Regions from separate parts of the Homo sapiens genome. Here all the other regions are linked to region 2. Evidence: promoter capture Hi-C in human tissues and cell types (Jung and others, 2019). All regions are on one chromosome and are shown on one strand. The core of a region is centred on a gene start or on the middle of the fragment in contact, and the rest is flanking DNA. Distances in the headings are between cores, read along the strand shown. Region 1 overlaps SMAD2 (SMAD family member 2). Region 2 holds the start of IER3IP1 (immediate early response 3 interacting protein 1). Region 3 overlaps SMAD2 (SMAD family member 2).

Region 1 (4,199 bases), core at 1,070-3,569, 640 kb before region 2:
CCCTGAAGAAAGCCTTTTGTTATTGTTGTCTTGACTAAATGTGGCATGGGAGCTAACATTTTCAAGGGAAGCTGATCTTATCTCCGGGCTCTAGAAGCCAAGACATGAGGTATGTGTTTACCGTCTCTTAGGTGACTCTCCAGAACTTTCATTCTCAACCTCCTCCCTCACTGCCAGTTCCTCCTCAGCTTCTTAGCCAAGTGGTAGAGGAAAAATGGTATTTTATGTCAGGACTAAGCCATGTGCTCTGAGCCCTGGGTAAGTCTGCAAGGCTTCTCTAGAACTCATACATAGGTCAATTATTCCTCCTCTGAAAACTTAAACTCTGGCACCACTAGCTTTTTCCTACAGCATACATGGGCTCAGTAAATCCTCTGTTAAGACAACAGGAAAATTAAGACAATGTCCTTGCAAGCCCCATAACTACTTTCTATCCCTGCTATTCACAGCCAAGTGTGTCGAGACCAGTTCACACAAACCTTGTTGATTTTCGGTTTCACCCCCTCCTTACTAAATCACCCCTCCATTTGCTGCAGTTGCCCTTGCGTGCTGTACTCAGACTTGGAGGAAGTGATGTCTTATTCAAGGCCAGTTTTTGTACTAGTGGTTAAATAAATGGTTTCCAAATTGGAGTCAGAAGGAGAGCTTCTAAAATGTAGGTTCCCTGGCCTCAATTGTGAGATTCTGCTTTAGCAGGTCTGGAATTGGAGCACTGGGATCTGCATTTTCAGAAAACCCAAAATGATTATCAGCCAGGACTTAAACCTCTGCTTTAGACCACATTCCCTGTGGGCTTTCAGATTTTCTATCAATGTTCTTCCCTCTTCCCAGCTCCCACACATTAAAACTCAGATCATGCAGAAAAGAAGTTACAGTTCCTTCATTTCACATCAATTTCTCATGCATCCCATCTGGTTTTGGGAAGGTGTGGGACGAGGTGGATGGCCTTAAACTTGCCAATCAAAGATAACGTTCTCTTTCGATTCAAATAGCCTATCTCAGGCTTAAAACCATCTCTTTGGATAAATGCTCAGCTTTTCAAAGGTTCTTCCTAGCTTCTTCCTCATGATGGCATCTAGTGGGTGAGAACAGTCATCTCCAGGTGACACAGGAAAGAGTTTCTCTAATGTATGTGCTGAGGTCCTTGACGGTCCTGCTGCTGGTGCTCATCCTGCCATCTTTGCTGGATGTCACTGAGTCTACTGGGTAATGTAAGTGGGTCCCTGGCTTTTGTTCACTGCTGTCATGCCCTGCTCCTGACCACAACTCTGTCATTGCCTTTGGTCTCAAGGTCTCTACCTTAATAGCTTCCATGTCCCAACTATGGGACTGTTAATCTGCTGGGCTTTGGAGTGGGTGGGAAGGGATGATGTTGGAACTTTGGGATGTACTGAACATCTTGCTCAAGCTTTGGGAAGCCAACATTTTCTCAGACTGACTAGACACCTCCTTCCACCAATGCTGAGCTAGTGCTCCTGTGCCATACTGGGTAAGCCTCTAAGTCATGAGTAGGACTTTTTTGAGTGGCTTGCAGTCTTCCCCAGGCTATGCCAGGAAAGTAGTTGACTAACCCTGCTGCTCCAAGACTCGCATACCCATCCTGAAGTTTCCGTTTATTTCCCAACAGGGCAATTGCAATCTCAATCAATCTCTCCCTGCCCTGGGAGTCATTCCACTCCTGCCTAATGAAGAGACTCTTCTCACATCGTATTCTCAGTTTCTCTTATCCATGGTTAGGAGTAAAACTCATGTTCAGTTGTCCAAGCTTTGCTTTTAGTATGTGAATGGAGCTCTTAGCATGTAGAACTCCCTTCTCATTCTCAGTAAAGTCTGACTTTGAAGACTACTTATCATCTTCCTAGAGATGCCAAAGAATAATCAAGATAATAAAGGCAGGCTCTGAGATTCACAGCTGAGTAGCAACTGTGCTGTTACTCTAGTACACACCCTCTCCTTTCCTGTGACTGTCAGGCTTCAGGGCTTACCTTTATTGGAAAGACAGCAGGGGGGCATATATGAAGAAAATGGAATCTTTAATATTGTCAAAGTCTTGACCCAATAGAGACATTCTTGCCCCAGACTCTCTTGCTTCAGTGCCTTTGCCTGTTCTGGTCCTAAGTACCTTGAATATCCTTCTCTTGATGCCCTGATATAAAACTCTTTATTCCTCAAAGCCAAGTTCAGGTTATCACCTCCACCACAGACTTTTCTTTCCCTCCCCAAACTTCATTGCCTCTTCTCATCACTCCCTTTGTAATTTGTTTATACTGGTAAGAGAGCATTCATCATAATTAGGCCTATCTATGCCTACCTTTCTTGTTAAATTATGAGCTTTGTTCTGCCTTGGATATCTCTCTGGCTTGGATATCTCTCTGGCCTTTGCTCTGCACTTCCAAATGTATCCATTATTCAAGACCCAGGTTTCCAGCCTGATCAACATAGCAAGATCCCATCTCTCCAAAAAAAAAAAAAAAAAAAAATTGTGGGGCCGGGTACAGTGGCTCATGCCTGTAATCCCAGCACTTTGGGAGGCCGAGGCAGGTGGATCATGAGGTCACGAGTTTGAGACCAGTCTGGCCAACATAGTGAAACCCCATCTGTACTAAAAATGCAGAAAATTAGCCGGGTGTGGTGGTGTGTGCCTGTAATCCCAGCTACTCGGGAGGCTGAGGCAGGAGAATCGCATGAACCCGGGAGGCAGAGGTTGCAGTGAGCCGAGATTGCGCCACTGCACTCCAGCCTGGGTGACATTGCAAGACTCCATCTCAAAAAAAAAAAAAAAAAAAATTAGCTGGGCATGGTGGCAGGCACCTGTAGTCCCAGCTACTTGAGAGGCTGAGGTGGGAGGATTGCTTGAGCCCAGGAAGTCGAGGCTTCATGAGCCATGTTTGTGCTACTGCACTCTAGCCTGGATGACAAAGTGAGATCCTTTTCTAAAAATAAGGACCCAGTTTATTTTATTTAGTTATTTAGTTATTTTTGAGACCAAGTTTCATCACTCAGGCTGGAGTGCAATGGCACAGTCTTGACTCACTGCAACCTCTGCCTCCTGGATTCAAGCAATTCTTCTGCCTCAGCCTCTTGAGTAGCTGGGATTGCAGGTGCCCGCCACCACACCTGGCTAATTTTTGTATTTTTGGTAGAGACAGGGTTTCACTATGTTGGCCAGGCTGGTCTCAAACTCCTGACCTCAGGTGATCCACCTGCCTTGGTCTCCCAAACTGCTGGGATTACAGGTGTGAGTCACCCTGCCTGGCCAGAACCCAGTTTAAATTCCATCCTCTCTGCAGAGTCTTCCTTAACCACCCCTATTGAAAGTTACCCCTGCTTCCTACAAGAAGTGGTACTTGGATGTTCATGAGATACCTGTGCAAGGCTCCTGTGGGGGTCCTGGGGAGACAGTGACATGGACACTCATGAAAGGAACCTTGGAATAGCGAGTGTGTGTGCTATAAAATGTGCTTTAGATTTGATTACCACCACTTAAGTTATGAGCTCTGATATGGTTTGGGTCTCCATCCCCACCCAAATCTCATCTTGAATTGTAATCCCTACATGTTGAGGGAAGGAAGTAATTGTATTATGGGGGTGGTTCTCCCATGCTGTTCTCATGATAGTGAATTCTCACAGGATCTGATGGTTTTATAAATGGTAGTTTTTCCTGTACTTTCACACACTCACACTCTCTTCTGCCACCTTGTGAAGAAGGTGCCTGCTTCCCCTTCTGCCATAATTGTAAGTTTCCTGAGGCCTCCCCAGCTGTATTAGTCTGATCTCACGCGGCTAATAAAGAGATACCGGAGACTGGGTAATTTATAAAAGAGGTTTAATTGACTCACAGTTTTACATGGCTGGGGAGGCCTCACAATTATGGCAGAAGGTGAAGGGGGAGCAAGACACATCTTACATGGCATCAGGCGAGAGAGCTTGTGTAGGGGAACTCCCCTTTATAAAACCATCAGATCTCGTGAGACTTATTCACTATTACAAGAGCAGCACGGGAAAGACCCACCCCCATGATTCAGTTACCTCTCACTGGGTCCCTCACATAATATGGGGAATTATGGGAGCTCCAATTCAAGATGAGATTTGGGTGGGGACACAGCCAAACTATATCACCAGCCATGTGGAACTGTTGAGTCAATTAAACCTCTTTCCTTTATAAATTACCCAGTCTCAGGTATTTCTTTATAGCAGTG
Region 2 (4,055 bases), core at 1,079-3,578:
CCCTGGGTGCAAGTGATCCTCCCACCTCAGCCTCCTTAGTAGCTGGGACCACAGGTGTATACCACTAAGCTGAGGCATTTTTTTTTTTTTTTTGTATTTTTGGTAGAGACAGGGTCTTGCCATGTTCCCCAGGCTGAGAATCTGTAGTTTTTAAGTGGCCAATATTGAGGTGTTGTCAAGAAGAGGGCTCAGCCTGGCGGGATGACCCATTCCTGTAATAGAGTGTATTAGTCAGTATTCTCTAGAGGGACAGAACTAATAGGAGATATATATACAAAGAGGGAGCTTATTCGGTACTATTAACTCACACGATCACAAGATCCCACAATAAGCCGTCTGCAAGCTGAGGAAGCCAGTCTGAGTCCCAAAGCTGAAGAACTTGAAGTCCAACGTTCAAGGGTAGGAAGCATCCAGCATGGGAGAAAGATGTAGGCTGGGAGGCTAAGCCAGTCTACCCTTGTTGAGAGCAAGCCCCCAACAGTCTGGCCATAAACTAGCCCCAAAACTGGCCATAAATAAAATCTCTGCAGCACTATAACATGTCCATAATGGCCCTAACGCCCAAGCTGGAAGGTTGTGGGTTTACGGGAATGAGGGCAAGGAATACCTGGCCCACCCAGGTTGGAAAACTGCTTAAAGGCATTCTTAAGCCACAAACAAAAGCCTGAGAGATCTGTGTCTTAAGGATGTGTTCCTGCTGCAATTAATTCGGCCCATCCCTTCATTTCCCATAAGGGATACTTTTAGTTAATTTAACATCTATAGAAACAATGCTAATGACTGGTTTGCTGTTAATAAATACGTGGGTAAATCTTTGTTCGGGGATCTCAGCTCTGAAGGCTATAAGACCCCTGATTTCCCACTTCACACCTCTGTGTGTGTCTTTAATTCCTCTAGCACCGCTGGGTTAGGGTCTCCCCAACCGAGCTGGTCTTGGCATACCCTTTTCATTGGTTTTTTGCCTGCTTTATATCCTGGCCACTCCAGCAGCTGATTAGATGGTGCCCACTTGGATTAAGAGTGGACCTGTCTTTCCCAGCCCACTGACTCAAATGTTAATCTCCTTTGGCAACACCCTCACAGACACACCCAGGATCAATACTTTGCATCCTTCAATCCAATCAAGTTGACACTCAGTCTTAACCATCACATACAGCTAAGCAGGAGGCTAAGGCAGGAGGACTGCTCGAGCCAGGAGCTGAAGGCTGCATTGAGCTATGATGGTGCCACTGCACTCCAGCCTGGGCAACAGAGCAAGACCCTGTTCCTGGGGGGGGAAAAAAAAAAAGAAGAGGCTCAGAGGATCTTGGTTGGAGTTTGGTCAAGGAGGGGATGTTTCTCACTGAGTAATTTTAAAACAGTTATTTTGTTTTAGCATTCTGAAATCTGAAATGGGAATATTAGTATCTCCTGTATCTCCTGGGAGCATCAAGTGCAGTACTGAGCAATAGAAATATAATGCAAGCGTCACATGTCATTTACAGTATCTTCATAACCACATTAAATAAAATAATTAAAAATAAACAAGAAACCTTCCTCCCTTCCTTCCTTCTTTCCTCTTGCTCTGTCACCCAGGCTGGATCTCGGCTCACTGCAGTCTCTGCCTCCCGGGTTCAAGTGATTCTCTTCTCTCAGCCTCCTGAGTAGCTGGGATTACAGGAGCCCACCATCACACCCAGCTAATTTTTGTATTTTCAGTAGAGACAGGGTTTTGCCATGTTGGCCAGACTGGTCTCGAACTCTTGACCTTAGGTGATTTGCCCGCCTCGGTTTCCCAAAGTGCTAGAATTACAGGCGTGAGCCACTGCGCCCGGCCTCAAAATATTTTCATTTCAACATGTTATCAACATTTAAAAATTATTGGGAGGCCGAGGAGGGGGGAATCACGAGGTCAGGAGATTGAGACCATCCTGGCTAACACGGTGAAACCCCGTCTCTACTAAAAATACAAAAAATTAGCCGGGCGTGGTGGCGGGCACCTGTAGTCCCAGCTACTTGGGAGGCTGAGGCAGGAGAATGGCGTGAACCCGGGAGTCGGAGCTTGCAGTGAGCCGAGATCGTGCCACTGCACTCCAGTTTGGGCGACAGGGCCAGACTCCATCTCAAAAAAAAAAAAATTATTGGGATATTCTTCATCCTTGTTCCAGTTCCAAGTGTGTGAAATCCGGTGTGTATTTTGCACCTGCAGCACTGGCCACATCAGAGCATTGATTGCACATCACCGGTCTAGACAAGCGGCAGGACTTGCAGTCTTCAGCGAGGGGCGGTTCTTAGCCAGATGGAGGCGGGGCTTCCCGGAGAGTTCGTTTTGGGCCCCATCGGCTTCCGTAGGAAGGCGCCGGCCGTGGAGGCGCCACGTCCCTTGCGGCGGCGGGAGAGAAATCGCTTGGACTTCGGGGCGGCCTCGGACGGCCATGGCCTTTACCCTGTACTCACTGCTGCAGGCAGCCCTGCTCTGCGTCAACGCCATCGCAGTGCTGCACGAGGAGCGATTCCTCAAGAACAGTGAGTGGGACCGCGGGGCGCGGGCTGGGGCGGCGGCGGAGTCCCCGGGGGCGCGTAACCTAATGGGGCCGCGTGAGGGGACACCAAGGGCCGGGACAGAAGAACAGCGGAAGGCTCGGCTTGGAGTGGAAGCCGAGCCTTTCCTCTCATCAGGTTTGGGCTCAACAGCCGGGAGAATATTCAACAGACACCCGCTGTGCAGGGCCCAGGGGGTTGGGGTGGAGGGATATAGAAGTCAGTCAGGGACGCCTCTGCTTGCGATTACTTCAGGTCAGTAATTTAATTCAGTTTTCTGTGACTACTTTTTTTTTTGAGGGGGAGTCTCGCTCTTTTGCCCAGGCTGAAGTGCAGTGTCGCGGTCCTGTGACTACTTTTAATAGTCGAAAACCCGGGGTCTGAGTTTCGGGCTAAGAGTTGGGGGTGTGGGGCCGGGCGCGGTGGCTCCCGCCTGTAATCCCAGCACTTTGGCAGGCCGAGGCCGGCGGATCATGATGTCAGGAGTTTGGGACCAGCCTGGCCAACATGGTAAAACCCCGTCTCTACTAAAAATACAAAGATTAGCCGGACGTGGTGGTGGAAATACAAAAATTAGCCGGGCGGGAGGCTGAGGCAGGAGAATCACTTAAACCTGGGAGGCAGAGGTTGCAGTGAGCCGAGATTGCGCCATTGCACTCCAGCCTGGGCAATAGAGTGAGACTCCGTCTAACAAAACAAAACAAACAAAACAAAACGAGTTGGGTGTGGAGGGGAAGGAGGCGTGACCCATTTTGGAGCATCAGTAGTTCACTAACTGATGGAAGGCAATAAGTGTTCCTGGGCTTTAGGAATTACAGGAAGGGAACGTGTTGGAGTTATCAGGACATTCAGACACTCATGTTCCAAGAAAAGTTTATTCAGATAGCTTATTGGGTGCATAGAGTGTGCCAAAAACTCTGCTAGAATTTAGAAATTCAAAAATGAAAACACAAGTTATACCTTCCAGGACCTCACGTTGTGTACCAAGTATGCCCGTTTGAATCACTGAAACGTAAACCCAGGAGCAAGATTGATTCATTTCATTTACTTCAGAAGATATTTATTGAGTGCAAAGTATGTGCCAGGCCCATTTATAGTAACTGAAGTTACAGCAGCTACTCTGCCCTTCTGATGGAAGTTAATCTAAATAAAAACTAAACAAATGACAATAACAAGTATAGAGAGTATTATGTAAGAGAAGTACGGGCAGATACTAACTTGTGTATCTGCGAAAGCTTCTTGGAGGAAGCGTGTCTAACCTGAAATCTGATACATGAGTAAACATTAACTCGGTGAAGGTGAAGGGTTGGGAGGAGCTGGAAGGGTGAGGAGAGCTTTAAGCAGTGTAGACCTGGTGTGAAAACTGAGGCAGGTGAGAAGAGGGTCTTAAGACAGCGACATGACCAGATTTGTGTTATTTGCAAGATCCTTGAGGCTACAATACGGAGGAAAGATTGGAAGGGAAAGCAGTGGATGTGGGAAGACCCATTTTTTTTTTTTTTTGAGACGGAGTCTCACCCTGTCCCCCCGGCTGG
Region 3 (4,237 bases), core at 953-3,452, 720 kb before region 2:
AAAAAAAAAAATTATTCTTCCATGTGGTGCAAACCAAAATAATGGAATTATGGAGAGGTTAGAGCAGGAATGCAGTTTGTGTACATTGGAAATGAATCTTAGCATATAATCTATGAAAATTAGCCATGTTCTTTGATGGGAAATAAATTTGCATCTTGTGTTAGGATCTTCTTTAACGTTAAGAATATGTGCAAAGTGTGCTTAAAAACTGTTTTTTTCCTTTAAAAATGTTTTATCCAGTTTTTTGTACACACATACACAAAAACATACACAATGGCCATATCATTCAGCCTTTTTCATCTTTTCACCCCCTTTTCTGCATATTGGTATATCTGCAACCCATATTAATATCCTAGATTTTTGTTTATACACGTATAATCCAGTTACTAGTTGTAACACGTGGCACATTGCCAGATTACTTAGAATAAAGCTGTCACATTTGACCTTTTCACCAGCAATGTGGAATGATAACAATTTCTTCACATCTTCTCCAGCAGTAGGTATTTTAATTAATTCAATTTTTGCCAGCTAGATTGGGCATGAAATGATGCCTTATTATTATTTTAACTTGTACTTCCTCCTCTACGTTTAAAAACTATTGTCTGATCATTATGATAATTAAGGAACAAACTAATGAAAATGTAAGCATCATTGTTTTCTTAAAGATACACTTTGAAAACTACAATTTCAGTATTTGGGGTGTGTGATGTAAAGACTACAGACCTCTTTACTTTCTAAAAAGGATGCCTTTTGGGAACTTTATTAAATATGGCAAATTGAACACATTCATTTTCCTTTTTCCTATATCTCACTAAAATTGAAGGCAAAGGAAAGAAAAGCGTAAGAGCTAAGATATTAAGAGCTTCTGGAGCGAAACAATTTTTAAACCCCAATTAAAGGATCAGGAATAAAAGTTATGTGGGACTTACCAGTATCAGTAGTGGAGTCTAGAAAATTGAGGGGACAGTGCTTTCTAAATTCTGTGTGAACTGATAAGGAATGACCTACAGGGAATTAAGCAAAAAAATAAAAATAAAAAAATAATTTCAAGATATACAAAATAAGGAATATTATGCTACTTTTGTACAGCAATAAGGTGGGAATGTGGTTAGTTGTATGTATACATGTTTATATTTGTAAAATGACGCTGAATAGACAAAACAGCTTAATAAAAATGATTCCTATGGAAGAGAAAAGACAAGGTACAATTCCTTAAATTGGGAAGAGAAACTATCTGACTTTACTCACTATGCAAATTGTTATTTAGATGAAAATGAAAAAAACATGTGTTAAAAAATTTCTCTCAAGAGCAGGTGAAACCGGACTACAGCTTTTCTCCACGGACTCTGTTTGCCATGTTTATTTCTTTATTCTTGATTACTTCACACTTTACGCATTTTCCCTTCTTGTAACTGTAGATTTTGCCTCCTATTAGTTATGAAAGTTTAAAACCCGGGGGAGAGTGGGCTTACAAATTTTCAATGTATTTTTGTATAGTCTTTTGAGATTAGAGTGAAGTTCTAAAAAGTAAGAGAACCTTTTGTGAAAATATTTTAATTGACACTACTAAGAGTTTAAAATAGTATTGGTGGTGAAAAATCGTTAAAAGTATCTGATTTTACTTGCAAAATTACTGTATTTTCCCACAAGAGGAGTCCTTACAACATTCTTGTTTTTAGAAGGGTTTGTTTCCATCATTCATTTAAATTCATAAAGATAACGTTTTCATGGGTGGAGAAGTCTATTGGGAAAGTCATAATTCGAATTTCTATCTTGCTTTGCAGTTTGCTTTCTATGATAAGTTGAAATTATTACTTGATGTTCAAGGTAGTCTCTACATCATCCTTTCAATATTTCTGCTAGGTTCGATACAAGAGGCTGTTTTCCTAGCGTGGCTTGCTGCCTTTGGTAAGAACATGTCGTCCATCTTGCCATTCACGCCGCCAGTTGTGAAGAGACTGCTGGGATGGAAGAAGTCAGCTGGTGGGTCTGGAGGAGCAGGCGGAGGAGAGCAGAATGGGCAGGAAGAAAAGTGGTGTGAGAAAGCAGTGAAAAGTCTGGTGAAGAAGCTAAAGAAAACAGGACGATTAGATGAGCTTGAGAAAGCCATCACCACTCAAAACTGTAATACTAAATGTGTTACCATACCAAGGTAAGTTTTGTTAGATCCCAGGTTTGATCAAATTATGTCAAGGAATCTGAAGGAAAGTTACTGAATTTGTGTTCCTTTCAAGTTGCCTGTAAAAAGTGATGATTGAAATATGACTGTTTTTAACCTTGTATAAATTGTTTTTGCTAGCTGACTTGTTTTATAAATTATTTTCTTGAATAGTGAGGTTTAATCAAGCTAAATAAGATACTTAGATTTATTATCTTCATTGCCTACATTTGTATGTTATCCTCATTTCCGTGATTGAATGATACTTGAATAAAGAATTGAAGCTTTTTCTATCACTAACATAGTAGCAACCTACAGTTTTCTCCTCCTTTAGTCAAAACTTTCATCAGGGGTGAAAAGAGGCTGCTCACTTTTTAATGAATTTTATATGGTTTTTCTTTGCGTTGCAGCATTGCTTCCAAGAAAGAATAGTGTGTTAGGTGGCTTCTTAATTGTTGTAGGCATTAGTCAGAACCTGTCTTAAAGACCTGCCTCTTAGGTTAGGAGGACCTGTTACTTTAAAAGTCTGAAGTTTTCTGAGGATAAATTTAATCATTTACAGATAAGTACCACTGTCATAAGTATTGTTTTTTAATTAAGTGACAGGTGTTTTAAAGTGTGTTTTACTACTTGTGTACATTACAGATTTTGGGGAGATTGTTAAATGTAAGAATTCTCTAAAATGATAGTTTGCAGTGTCATACCGTGGGCTAGCATATAGCATGTGAAACCATTCTACTTGACTTTGAACTTTGAGAAGTACACTTTTGATGCTTATAGATAACAGATCCCAATAACACCAGTGCAGCCTGTCTAGTTGCAAATACTAACAGTAGAATGTTTCTTGCCTTGTTTGGTAGACCATCCATTTCTTTCCCTTACTTGTTTTATGTATATCTTAAAGGTTGCTTTTTTGGTTTGTTGATTTGTTTTACAAATGCTTATTGAGTGTTTGCTATGTAGAAGGCACTGTTTCTAGACATATGAGGATAACAGTGATTAACAAAACACAAAACTCCTGCCTTCCTAAGGGATAGAAATACACGATAAACAAGTAAACAAATTAATTATAATTTGATATGGTAATGAGTGCAAAGAAGACAACCAAATGCAGTGATATGATAGAATGAAGAATTAAAAAGCTGCTTTGGGTCGGATTGTGATGCTTGCGTGGAGCTTGGAGAAGCAGCAGCCAACTGAGGGAAGAGTCTTCTAGGCAGAGGGAAGAGCCAGAGTGAAGACACTGAGGTGAGCTTCTTGTATTAGAATATTTAAAAGGAGCCCAGTGTAGATGGAGGACAAGACTTGCCCAAAGCTTATACAGGGCATCCTAGAGTGTGGTGAGAGTTTGAATGTTAGTCTGAATATAACAGGATGCAAGTAAGTTTATTCTGATGGATTTTAAAGAGGATCTTACATATTTTTACAAAGATTTTTCTGGCTGCGGGAGAGTGGTATGTGTGTAGTAGGGTAGATGGAAGCAGGAAAATTAGGAGGCTGTGAGGAATCTAAATGCAAGACGATAGAGGCTGGACTGGCGTGGTGGCTGTGCTAGCACACGAAGTAAACAGATTTGGCATGGGTTTTAGAAGTGGAACTGAGGACTTCCTGGTGAATGGGCTGAGAAGTCAAGCTATATTTCATTCTTCATTGTGTAGTGCTTGGGATTTCAATTAGGTAACCATTTATCATATGCCCACTATGTGCCTGGTGTGCTCTTCCTCACTGGAGTTAAGATACAGTGTTTGCTTTTAAACTACTTACTTCCTAGTAAGGGAGATAAACTTAGAAAAAGATGGTTTCATGAGGCTTGGTAGATGTTATAAAAGAAGTATGCTTGGGGCTATATCCAGAGGAGGCTTGTGGAAAGTTTCCTTCTGGAGGAATACTGGTGATTTTGAGTTGAGCGGGGTAAAGGAGGAATTAGGAGAAGCCTGTTTCATCACATGTAGTGCGGTGGTGTGGAGATTGGGAGGTGGGGGAGGATTGGTGAAGCGTTCCAAACAAGTTGGGTATCCTTAGAGTATAAAGTAAGGGGTGGCAAATGGCCATAGTGTGTATAGGTAGTAAGGAGTCACT

Evidence for each region. The method cuts DNA at HindIII sites, captures the fragments that hold promoters and counts their contacts. A contact is called where the count stands out against the background at its distance.
Region 1: a contact is called between a fragment that was not itself captured here and the fragment with the promoter of IER3IP1 in region 2, in 1 of the 25 tissues and cell types used here (lymphoblastoid cells).
Region 3: a contact is called between a fragment that was not itself captured here and the fragment with the promoter of IER3IP1 in region 2, in 1 of the 25 tissues and cell types used here (lymphoblastoid cells).

What each region holds. Positions count from the first base shown.
Region 1 is chr18:47,811,993-47,816,191 of GRCh38, reverse strand. It overlaps SMAD2 (SMAD family member 2), which reads left to right. Exons shown (of 11, transcript NM_005901.6): 11 at 1-4,199. Among named protein-coding and RNA genes, the nearest start is that of SMAD2, 120 kb to the left of the region's middle. The HindIII fragment of the contact is 3,563 bases long and covers 538-4,100 here.
Region 2 is chr18:47,174,637-47,178,691 of GRCh38, reverse strand. It overlaps IER3IP1 (immediate early response 3 interacting protein 1), which reads left to right and starts at 2,328. Exons shown (of 3, transcript NM_016097.5): 1 at 2,328-2,505. The coding sequence starts at 2,415. RefSeq lists enhancers at 2,160-2,289, 2,300-2,419. The HindIII fragment of the contact is 11,428 bases long and covers 1-4,055 here.
Region 3 is chr18:47,894,436-47,898,672 of GRCh38, reverse strand. It overlaps SMAD2 (SMAD family member 2), which reads left to right. Exons shown (of 11, transcript NM_005901.6): 2 at 1,864-2,152. The coding sequence starts at 1,917. Among named protein-coding and RNA genes, the nearest start is that of SMAD2, 34 kb to the left of the region's middle. RefSeq lists a silencer at 2,728-2,928. The HindIII fragment of the contact is 3,988 bases long and covers 209-4,196 here.